Regions from separate parts of the Homo sapiens genome. Here regions 2 and 3 are each linked to region 1. Evidence: promoter capture Hi-C in 16 types of primary human blood cells and fetal thymus (Javierre and others, 2016). All regions are on one chromosome and are shown on one strand. The core of a region is centred on a gene start or on the middle of the fragment in contact, and the rest is flanking DNA. Distances in the headings are between cores, read along the strand shown. Region 1 holds the start of SPEF2 (sperm flagellar 2). Region 2 overlaps PRLR (prolactin receptor). Region 3 overlaps PRLR (prolactin receptor).

Region 1 (3,961 bases), core at 893-3,392:
AATACTCCATTAGAACGGGGCATCTCTGCTAGCTTCCAGATCTACACTTCAGGAGCACAGACGCCAGGAATTTTCTATCCATAGCCTAAATGTTGTTAAAATTCTTACTTAGTCTTCAGCCCTTTTATGTTTATCCTCCACCTCTCAAAACCTAAATTCCCAAAACTAATTAAAATTATAATGGCATCTACTGTTTTTATTTTATGTATCTTTATTAATTTCATTTATTTCTCCTAAAAGTATTTCAAAATGTTGCAATAGAGTCCTGGGGACTTCAGCAAAGGGTGTTTTTTGTTTGTTTGTTTGTTTTGTTTTTTGTTTGTTTTTTGAGACAGAGTCTTTCTGTGTTGCCCAGACTGGAGTGCAGTGGCGCGATCTCGGCTCACTGCAATCTCTGCCTCCTGGGTTCAAGCGATTCTCCTGCCTCAGCCTCCCAAGTAGCTGGGACTACAGGCACCCGCCACGACGTCCGGCTAATGTATTTTTAGTAGAGACAGGATTTCACTATGTTGGCCAGGCTGGTCTCGAACTCCTGACCTCATGATCTGCCCACCTCGGCCTCCCAAAGGGCTGGCATTACAGGCGTGAGCCACCGCACCCGGCCCGGGTGTGGTTTTTACTAATAAAATAAATGAACTAAATTAAACTAAGCAATATGTAACTGCTTTTCTTTTAGAAGAGTACAACTTAAGGGCATGATATTTTATTTTGGCTCCTATGGTGAGACAGGAATAAGAAACAATAAATGCTAAATATTGTCCTCAGTCCATCATATTTTAGCAAATAAACAGTTGGAGACACAATGGGATAATCGTAGAATACCAGGAAAGAATTTATTGCAGTTCACAGGGAGTGTGTAGATGGTTATTTGACAAAGAAAGAGTCTGAGGTTTATGCCTCAAGAAATGCAACAGGAGATGCTCCGTGCTAAAGATCCTCATGCTGAGAGTATTAATAACTACTTTGCACCCACAGAAACACTACCGATCTAGCAACTTCTGTAGATAAGCTAAGGTTGAACTGGCACCACTGCCTCTCTGGTAGCAAGCTGGTGTTAAGCAAGTTCTTCTGGGAAAATGGACTGAAATGACTTGCCCTGAAAACCTCTTCCCTTAAGCAAAAAAAGAAAAAAAGACAAACAAAACCAACTGAAAAATGAACTCCTGAAGAATTACAGGGCAGTCAAGGAAGCTGCCAGCATGTAAAATTGTCTCTGTGGTTGTCAGACTTGGAAACTTTGGGTGGCAACTGCATGGTTAGGATAAAATTAGGTTGGTGAATAAGGTCAGCTTTGGGCAAGAGCCAATAGTGACCAGAAATAGCTAGTTTGTGATTTGGGGCTTAAAATTTACTAAAATTTGTAAATGTTAACATATTCTACATTAACTTATTTTTCACCCACCCTCCCCTGCTGGTCAGTTAAGTATGGAAAGCATTATTAGGTCCATTTTATAGAGAAGGAAACACATTCAGAGAAGGTATTGTAACTTGTCCAGTGGCTTCATATTTCATCGACTAGCCACCACACCATGCTTCTGCTTCTGGTGATGTGAAGGAGGCATCGTTGGGGTCAGACTACAAAGTCCAGCAAAGTTCCCTCTCCACAGAAGCAAAGGAGACCTTCCTAAACCCTCTGATTGCCTAGAACCACATCACAAAGTCAGAATGCCTGCGGGTTGGGCCCACCGTGACAAGGGTAACTCGAGAGCGGCAGAGTGGGGACGTGACAAGGCCTTGCCCTGGCTGGGGTGAGCTGTAGGGAGGTGGCGGGACGGACCTGGGGCACCGCCGAGCCGAGTTGCTCACTGTGGGATGCTGCCGGCTACGCAGGTGCCCCACCTGTGCAGCTCGCGCCCTGCCCGCCACCTTCCCTGAGTGCGCTGCGCTGCGCTGCAGGCTCTGCGCCCCGCTAGCCCCTCAGACGCTCGCCCCTGGCCGTGGTCACTCACTCACGGTCCGGGACACCTTCAACTCCTTGTTGAGCCACTGGCACAGGATCTCCGACATGGTTCAGCCGGTGCCTCAGACCGCAGGCGGGGGCTTAGAAACTCGCCAGGAACCAAGCCTGCCAGCCCGCGTCCTCCTGTAGCCAAGGGCAACCCTTTGCTATGGAAGCGTATCCAGGCTGGAACTAGGCGAAAGGCCTTAGAGAAGAGGGGACGCTAGGGCTCAGCCGCAGAGGACAGAAAATCGTGTTTCGCCACCTGCTGGCGGGTAAGACCTGAGCGTGCGCCAGCGCAGGAGGAAGCCGTTGGGGGCCTGTGAGAGAAGTTAGGGAGCAGTGGGTGTGGGGAGAGGCGAGGCGGGAACACTTAGGGACACAGCAGGAGCTTCTTAGGTGAGCAGAAAGTAAAACCAGAGTCTCCGCAGGGCTCCGTGGCTCACGCAAATAATCCTACCACTTTGTGGAGGGGGTGGCGCTCGACTGAGCCTGGGAGTTCAAGACCAGCCTGGGCAAGGTAGCAGAAACCGTTTTTTTTTCTGTAAGAAATTAGGCGGCCGTGGTGGCGTGCGCCTGTGGTCCCACCAGCTCAGGATGCTGACGTGGAAGGATCAACCCAGGAGGCGGAGTTTACAGTGAACCGAGATCGAGCCACTGCACTCCAGCCTGGGCAACAAAATGAGACTCTGTCTCAAAAAAGAAGAAGAAAGAAGAAAGAATAACAAGAAGGAGAAGGAGAGGGAGAGGAAGAGGAGGAGGAGAAGAGGAAGAACAGGAGGAAAAGAAGAAAGAGAAGGAGAAGAAGGAGAACAAGGAGAAGGAGGAGAACAAGGAGAGATCAAAGAAGAGGAAGAAGAAGAAAAAAGAAGAGGAAGAAAAAGAAGAAGGGTATTTGGGGTATCCATCACCTTGAGTATTTATCATTTATATACGTTGGTAACATTTCAAATCTTCTCTTCTAGCTATTTTGAAATATACAATGTATCATTGCTAACTATAGTCACCCCAGTTGCTAGCTAACATTAGACCCTATTTCTTCCATCTAACTATAAGTTTGTACCCATTCACCAACCTCTCTTCATTTCCCCTTCCCACCCTCACATCCTTTCCAGTCTCTGGTACTCATAATTTTGTTCTCTATCTCCAGGGGATCAACTTTTTTAGCTACCACATATGAGTAAAACATGCAGTATTTGTCTTTCTGTTGCCTGGCCTATTTCATTGAACATAATGGCCTCCAGTTCATCCATGTTGCTGCAAATGACCTGTTTTCATTCTTTTCCATGGACAAATGGTATTCCGTTATGTATATATACCATTCTTTCTTTTTCCATTTGTTCGCTGATGGACACTTAGATTTATTCCATATCTTGGCTATTTTGAATAGTTCTGTGATAAACATGTGAGTGCAGGTATCCCTTTGATATACTGACTTCTTTTCCTTTGGATAGATACACTGTAGTGGAACTGCTGGATTTTATGGCAGTTCTGTTTTTAGTTTTTTGAGAAACCTCCATACTGCCTTCCATAGTGGTCATACTAATTTACATCCCCACCAACAGTATGAGTTCCCTTTTCTCCACATCTTCTCCAGCATCTGTTGTTTTTTGTCTTTTTAATAATAACCATTCTAACTGGGGTAAGATGGTATTTTATTGTGGTTTTGATATGCATTTGATAATTAGAGATGATGAATTTTTTCATATACCTGTTGGCCATTTGTACCTCTTCTTTTGAGAAATGTCTATCCGTGTCCTTTGCACACTTTTTAGTGGGATTGTTTGTTTTTTTAGTGTTGAGTTGTTTGAGTTTCTTGTATGTTGTGGATATGAGTCCCTTGTCAGATTAATAGTTTGCAAATATTTTCTTCCATTCAATGGGTTGTCTCTTCACTCCGTTGATTGTTTCATGTATTGTACAGAAGCTTTTTAGTTTAATATAGCCCCCAGTTGTCTATTTTTGTTTTAGTTGTCTGTGCTTTTGAGGTCTTATTCATAACATTTTTGCCTAGGCCAATGT
Region 2 (3,961 bases), core at 625-3,124, 550 kb after region 1:
CCTCCCAACCCTCCCAGGTATTCAGAGAATATGATTATCATTAAAAATTAAAAGTGAAGAAACCAAACCTCAGCAAAGTTAGGAGTCTTTTCCAAAACCACACAGGAAAGTCTAGCTTTTCTAACAACTTGCCTGACCAAAGTATCGGGCTTTCATTGGCTTGGCATGCTGGAAAGGGCACTGAACTGCAAATCAGGCAGGCATCTAGTCCACTCCTGACTCTTGCTTAACAAAAGCACAGGGTCTAGAGGCAGAAAGCCTGAGTTCAAATCCCAGCCTGCAACACTATAGTTATGTGGCCATTGGTAAATCTTTCTTTGATTCCCAGTTTTCTTATCTTTTATAACAAAGCAATGTAGGCAAAGAGTTTAACACCATTGATGGCTTTTAGTAAGAACTTAATGTTAGCTTTTATTATTATTACTGCAAACGACCATGTGACCTTGGATTTCCTCTTTAAGGATCAATTAAAAAGAATAATGAAAGGATTTTTAAATTTTTAGAGTACTATAAAATATACGCAACATATTAACATATTAATAATATTTAAAAGAGAATAGCCCTGTCATTGATGATACTTTGGATTGCTGTTCAAATCAAAAAAATATATGAATGGAGGAAAACACTCTTGGGTTTAAGAGTTTCATTCATTAGGTTGGTTTGTTTTTAATGATGCTGTACGTGATCAAAGCTTTCTGGCTGTTTGTTTTTTAGACTTCACCATGAATGATACAACCGTGTGGATCTCTGTGGCTGTCCTTTCTGCTGTCATCTGTTTGATTATTGTCTGGGCAGTGGCTTTGAAGGGCTATAGGTACTTCACTGTCTCTCAACTTTTCCTCCCAATCATGATAGTCAAGGATAATGACAAAAAAAAAAATACAAAGATGATGGAAACCTGTAGATAATCCTCATTTTAGCCATTAGATGTAGTGTGTTTGCCCATAAAAAAAATCTTTTATCAGTGCTATAAAAAGTAGAAAAATTGACTCGTTTCAGGCTGATGTTCTTTCTATGAAACAGAGATTCCTAGTTGTGAAACAGTAAAAATCTGGCAAGAGTAGCTAAAATCAAGAGAAGCAAATAGTCCAGATAATCCACTAACTTCAAAATCAGCCTCCTTAATTAGCTAAAGTTAATTTTAATATAGGCCTCTGTAATTTTATTTTCATCATTGATTGTTTCATGGAGCTGCCAAACCAAGTCCTATCTCTATCACAGTCCCTATAGTGGCTATTATACTAACCTTTCAAAAATTACAAAGTCAGAAATGAGTCATTTAGCCAATCTCATGAATTATTTTATAGCATGGTGACCTGCATCTTTCCGCCAGTTCCTGGGCCAAAAATAAAAGGATTTGATGCTCATCTGTTGGAGGTAAGTACAGGAGGCAAAAAAATGGAGTGTGACTCACTGCTCTGTAGTAATTAACTCTACACACTCACACACAGTCCCCGTCAGTTCAGCCTGGTAGTTTCAGCCAGCCTTTTTGGACTGTCTCTCCTGGTCAGCATGTGTGTTAACAGAAAGTTGTGTGAAGGATGAGGGTACTTACTTTCACACACTAAATGTCAGAGGGCAAGGAGAGAAAGCCAAGAAAACATGGAAACACATTTATTGATTTATCAGATCTACTCATAAGCATAGAGATAAACATTTTATACAAATAATCAATTTAGAAAGAGAGTGAATATTTTGATTAATGCAAAACAGGGACCCACCACCACCCCCTCAATCATACATTGGTAAAAGCTTCTACTTGAATGTTCTTTACATAAAGCCATAGTAACAGAATATCCCATTGCCATTATCTCTCACTTTGGGCACTCAGCTGAGACCAGATCAGTACTGTGGGGCCATCTGTTTGCCAGGACCCATTTGGGCTGATTCAAGAGGGAATTAAATAATGAGTGTTTTGAATGAAAAGAGAGGTTAGAACAGTTTTAAATTTTTCTCCAAATTGAAATAAATAGTTTCAGTTTGGCTTTTAAGCTTAACACTGACATATATAAAAGCAACTAGCTGTACATTAAGGCAAATACTTGACCCAGCTGCTCTGGGTCTGACAGTGTAAGAATAGAAGAATTGAGTCCTGGATAATCTGGCTTGTCTGTGTTCACTTTGGTTGCAAATATCGAAGCAGGGACTAGAGCCCAGGAGTCCCAGCTCCTGACCCAGTGCTCTTCCTCCACTATCCAGTGTAGCATTGGCCTGATAGAACCAGCATGAATGTCTCAGCAAACTAAACTAGTTACTGTCCAGCTCACAATTTAACCTGCTAGCCACAGAGACTTAACGATAAAATAGCTACTTTTGTCTCAAAAATATGTGTTAGTATTCTTAATGATATTACCTCTAATCCTCAAAAGAACCCTCCCAGATGGGTAGTATTAATATTATTTTCTACCTTTTAAAAATGGAGAAGCTGAAGTTCAGAGAGCAGCTTGTCCAAAGTCACATACCCTATAATAAGTGATAAAGCCAAGACCTAGGTCAGTACCTGACCCAAGTCAGAGGATAAGAAAAAAGAGGCCGGGCGCGGTGGCTCACGCCTGTAATCCCAGCACTTTGGAAGGCAGAGGCGGGCAGATCACGAGGTCAGGAGATCAAGACCATCCTGGCTAACATGGTGAAACCCTGTCTCTACTAAAAATGTAAAAAATTAGCCAGGCGTGGTGGTGGGCGCCTGTTGTCCCAGCTACTCGGGAGGCTGAGGCAGGAGAATGGCGTGAACCCGGGAGGCGGAGCTTGCAGTGATCCGAGATCATGCCACTGCACTCCAGCCTGGGCAACAGAGCGAGACTCCGTCTCAAAAAAAAAAAAAAAAAAAAGAGGCAAGAGTGAGAGGAGGAGGCAGGAGGAAATAGGAGGGGGAAAGGAAGGATAGAAGCAGGGAGAATAATAGGAAGGGCGGAAATATGGAATAGGGTGATGAAGGGGGAGAAGAGAAGGAGGGAGAGGAAGTAGAGTAGAAGAAAACAGTAGATTAGGAAGAGGGAGGAGAAGGGAAGGGGAAATAAGAAGAGGAAGGAGAGAAGGAAGATGAACCACAGAAGGAAAAGACAAGAATCCACTTACTATTGCCAGACTCTAGAAAGTGATAGAGGAAGTTAGCAGGCCAGCAACCACACCTCTGCCAGTGGGCCGCAGTGTCAGATGCATGCATAAGCACTGTGGGTTTAGAAGTTTCACAAACCTTCATTTTATAGTTATCTGTTTATTATTGTATGTGTATATACTACTTGCCCATTAAACTCATGATTATTATTGCTTGGAGAGAGACTACGTTAAATATCCTGAGTTGACTTTAAAAAAAAAAATCTGCTGAATAGTATCCAGAAGGTGATTCTAGATGGCCTGGCACACAAATGTCTGAAGTTTGAGATCTTCCCACCTGCTTGTGGCAATGAACAGCACCACTTAGCAGGGATGCTGATTTGGAATGTTATGAAGCTAACAGCCATCTCTTCTTGTGTCTGTGTTTTAATAGAAGGGCAAGTCTGAAGAACTACTGAGTGCCTTGGGATGCCAAGACTTTCCTCCCACTTCTGACTATGAGGACTTGCTGGTGGAGTATTTAGAAGTAGATGATAGTGAGGACCAGCATCTAATGTCAGTCCATTCAAAAGAACACCCAAGTCAAGGTATGAAACCCACATACCTGGATCCTGACACTGACTCAGGCCGGGGGAGCTGTGACAGCCCTTCCCTTTTGTCTGAAAAGTGTGAGGAACCCCAGGCCAATCCCTCCACATTCTATGATCCTGAGGTCATTGAGAAGCCAGAGAATCCTGAAACAACCCACACCTGGGACCCCCAGTGCATAAGCATGGAAGGCAAAATCCCCTATTTTCATGCTGGTGGATCCAAATGTTCAACATGGCCCTTACCACAGCCCAGCCAGCACAACCCCAGATCCTCTTACCACAATATTACTGATGTGTGTGAGCTGGCTGTGGGC
Region 3 (3,961 bases), core at 786-3,285, 520 kb after region 1:
ACAAGGGTTTGCTGATTTTATTGGCACACAGGTCTGAGAACATGGGAGGCTTGTGAGATAAAGTTGCCTCCTATTGGAGGTGTTATATGGGGAGCATGCTGAGTCAGCTGTTATCAGGAGGAAGGCTGCCTTAGAGGACTCAGAGAATTTACGTGTCAGGTGATAGCATGTAAGTCAGTGGTTTTCAACCCCAGCTTTAATTTAGAATCATCTAGAAAGGTTTTTTTTAAAATGCCCATGTCCTTCCAAGTGGGCTCAATTCTGAGCCAATTAGTGAGAATGTCCAGGGACAAAACAAAGAAATGAAAAATTTTAAGGCCGGGCACAGTGGCTCACGCCTGTAATCCCAGCACTTTGGGAGGTTGAGGTGGGCAGATCACTTGAGACCAGGAGTTCAAGACCAGCCTGGCCAACATGGTAAAGCCCGTCTCTACTGAAAATACAAAAATTAGCCAGGCGTGATGGTGCAGATCTGTAATCTCAGCTACTCTGGTGACTAAGGCAGGGGAATCACTTGAACCTGGGAGGCAGAGGCTGCAGTGAGCTGAAATCGTGTCACTGCACTCCTGCCTGGGTGTCAGAACAAGATTCTGTCTCAAAAAAAAAAAAAGAAAGTAAAGAAAAGAAATTTTAAGACACTCCTTGGACTGTAATGGGAATCCTGGATTAGAAACCACTGATGTCTATAGAACAGCTCTGTAAACTGCAAAACATAATGTATGATTTATGGGTGTTTTTTGATTGTTAGTAACTGATTGATGATCTCATGAGGGACTAGTTCCTCTGAAAATCAGGCCAACGTGGGTTTTCCACCATCTGTCCTACATGTGCACTGGCTGGGGGAAATTGAAACTCATCCAATTCCTATTCTTGCCTTTAAGCCAAAAAGACTGCTCGAAAACAAGCCTCCTTGGGATAAAAGATGTTGCTAGGATGAGGAAGCTGTAGTGAGTGAGTGGAGTTAATGTGATTAGATTTGGAAGCAATACTTCCAGCCATGGGGAAGCATCGGTGTTCTGTGTTATTAAAGTGACTCCAGTGCAAAGGCACATATATCGTATTGGAGTAATTTGCCCTGACTAGGTTAGAAGCCAGGAGATGGTTCTTCACAGGTATTCCTGAGTGGCCCAAGGTCTAAGTCAGCTCTCGTTTAGACAAATCCTATCTCTGCTGATCATCTACCTCTCACCAAATGCAGCCATCACCATGCACAGCACATGCGCTCCTCTTGATGATCTTCACAGAGTGCAGAGTCTTCAGGAAGTTCTTTCCTCAGTGGAACCTTTGGGATTTCTAGGAGAGGGGCAGGGGAATATCTGGAATCAGAGGTGAACACTTTACAGCAGCCTCTAAACTACTTCTAATTACGTTCACCTGACTAAACTGCCAGGTGATAAACGTTTTATATAAAAGTAATTCACTATGGAAAGTTCTGGATGTTTTCCCCAATGGGTACCTCAAAACAGGGTACAAGATGGAAACCTGCTCAAGAAACAGCAAAATGTAAACTGGATAATGGTGATGATAAAAAAATAATAATGAATGACCACACGAGCAAGTGTCCTCTTGTGAACTTTCACAGACAAATGCATAGATATGCTGCCTGGACTATGGGCAGATAAACATTCATTGTGGGCACATGTTTGTGTGAAGCTAATTATTGGCAGAGCAAGAACAGCTGGAACTTTCATCTCCCCACCTGCAGGCCAGGGTTCTCTTGGCACTATATCCTCAGTTTTCAATGTCTTCCTGAAAGAGCGGCTGCCATGTTCTCCTTAAAACTTCTTTAGATTCCCCTGTCAAATACTGAAAACTATGCTGGCTGTAAGTCTAGTGTTTGAAATACCAGCGTGGGACCAGTCTTCCTATATGCAGAGTTTTGTCCCATGTCTTAGAATCTTTTTCTGTTTTCTTCACCTTTTGGGCTTCATTTATTCACAATCATTGACTGTTGACATTGGGCAGAGCTTGTATAACAGTCTTAATCTTTAGCCTGGTATGTAATATCTAATCCCTGCTGTTCCTCTTCCCGCCCTGAGCACATTATGTCCTTTACTTTCCAGATTAAGTGTTGGCATTCTGTACTGGAAAGAAAACTCCAACTTCTTGCCATGTGCAGTGGCTCATGCCTGTAATCACAGACCTTTGGGAGGCCAAGGCGGGTAAATTTCCTGAGCTCAGGAGTTTGAGACCAGCCTGGGCAACATGGCAAAACCCCATCACTGCAGAATATACAAAAATTAGCTGGGTGTTGGTGGCTCGTGCCTCTAGTCCCCACTACTCAGGAGGCTGAGGTGGGAGAATCACCTGACCCAGGGAGGTCCAGGCTGCAGTGAGCGGTGATCATGCCACTGCACTCCAGCCTGGGCAACAGAACAAGACCCCGTCTCAAAAAAAAAAAAAAAAAAAAAGCCCAACTCCTGGAAATCAAATGGTACCTGATGTGAGGTTTTCTCCCTGTTATGTTAGCCTCAGGCCATCTAACCCAGGTAGAACAAGGCAGGTAAGGAAACCCAGTGGGCCAAGGACCCCGAAGGAAGCCCTTAACACAATGCCTAATACTGAAAACAACGGATGAATGTATTCAAAATTTGTTTGCAAGAAATGAGACTTTTTGCCTTTTTAGGACAAAAAAAGCACTTGAAATTTAATTTAGGTTAACAGGAGATATGGCGGGTAGCACAGAGTGATTATGAAATGCACAGGGCTTCCCTGCCATTCGAGTTTTGATCAATCTCAGCAAAACCCAAAGTTTGCCAAAACCTGGAAACAACTCAAATGTCCATCAACACAGTAGAATGAATAAATGAGTTATGGTATTTCATTCAATATAACATGAATGAAAATGAATGAGATGAAATGAAAATGAATTATGTAAAACTACATGTAACAACAAGGATGAATCCTACACCCATGTGAAATGAAAGAAGCCACACACACACACACTCAAGAAATGCATGTTGTATGATCCTATTTATATAAAGTTCAAAGGTAGGTAAAATTAATCTGTACTGTTAGAAGTGGGAAGAATGGTTTCTATCAGGAAGGAGTAGGTAGAGATTGGGAGGAGTTGCAAGTTGGATTTCTGGGGTGCTACTGGTGGTTAATCTCTTGACCTGAGTGGTAACATAGATATATTCTTTTTGTGATACTTCATTGAGCAGAATACAGTCATAAGTGTCGCTTCATGATAGGGCTAAGTTCTGAGAAATGTGTCAAGAGATTTCATTGTTGTACCAACATCATAGAGTATACTTATACAAACCTAGATTGTATAGCCTACTACACACCTAGGCTAGATGACATAGCCTATTGCTCCCAGGCTACAAACCTATACAGCTGTCACAGAACTGAATACTGTAGGCAATTGTTACAGAATGGTAAGTGTTTGTGTATCTAAATATATCTAAACATAGAAAAAGAACAGTAAACATACAGCATTATAATCTTATGGGACCACCATCATATATATGGTCCATCATTAACTGAAATGTCATTATGTGGCACATGACTGTACTTACAATTTGTGCATGTCATATGTATGATAGTCTAAAGTTCAAATGTTGGATTGGGCCTTGCTTGATTATCCAGGAACTGAGTTTGCAAGAGCTAAAAAGAACCTCAGAATCCCTGCCTAACAGGGATGGCAGGGTCCATTTCTGGACCCTAATGGTAGGTCCATTTCTGGAGTTAGGAAAACTGAGTCAAAAACCTGAGTAGAAGGTTGCAGCAACAGATACAGCAGGACAGGTTGGGGACTGTACTCAGGGGGATCACCAGATACCAGTCTTGGGAGCAAGTTCCACAGAATGGTAGGGCTGAGATTGCTGGCAGGCAGGATTGGCTTGGGGACTGCATAGGCCAGAACATAAAGGTGAAGTCTAAGAGAGGGTATTGCAGAGGATGAGGGGTTGACAGTGGGGAGTGGTATGTTGGGAGCTCAGATCTGGTTTATTTTTAA

The links. Contacts are between HindIII fragments. The CHiCAGO score rates a contact against its expected background, and 5 or more counts as called.
Region 2: a fragment that was not itself captured here is called in contact with the fragment with the promoter of SPEF2 in region 1 in 1 of 17 cell types (M1 macrophages); the score reaches 5.7 in M1 macrophages.
Region 3: a fragment that was not itself captured here is called in contact with the fragment with the promoter of SPEF2 in region 1 in 9 of 17 cell types (naive CD4 T cells, naive CD8 T cells, non-activated CD4 T cells and 6 more); the score reaches 9.7 in naive CD4 T cells.

The regions. Positions count from the first base shown.
Region 1 is chr5:35,616,044-35,620,004 of GRCh38, reverse strand. It overlaps SPEF2 (sperm flagellar 2), which reads right to left and starts at 2,142. Exons shown (of 37, transcript NM_024867.4): 1 at 1,950-2,142. The coding sequence starts at 2,007. RefSeq lists an enhancer at 1,292-2,099. The HindIII fragment of the contact is 5,837 bases long and covers 1-3,868 here.
Region 2 is chr5:35,065,632-35,069,592 of GRCh38, reverse strand. It overlaps PRLR (prolactin receptor), which reads left to right. Exons shown (of 10, transcript NM_000949.7): 8 at 715-814; 9 at 1,308-1,377; 10 at 3,491-3,961. Among named protein-coding and RNA genes, the nearest start is that of AGXT2, 20 kb to the right of the region's middle. The HindIII fragment of the contact is 240 bases long and covers 1,755-1,994 here.
Region 3 is chr5:35,093,275-35,097,235 of GRCh38, reverse strand. All of the region lies in intron 2 of PRLR (prolactin receptor), which reads left to right. Among named protein-coding and RNA genes, the nearest start is that of AGXT2, 47 kb to the right of the region's middle. The HindIII fragment of the contact is 6,019 bases long and covers 1-3,961 here.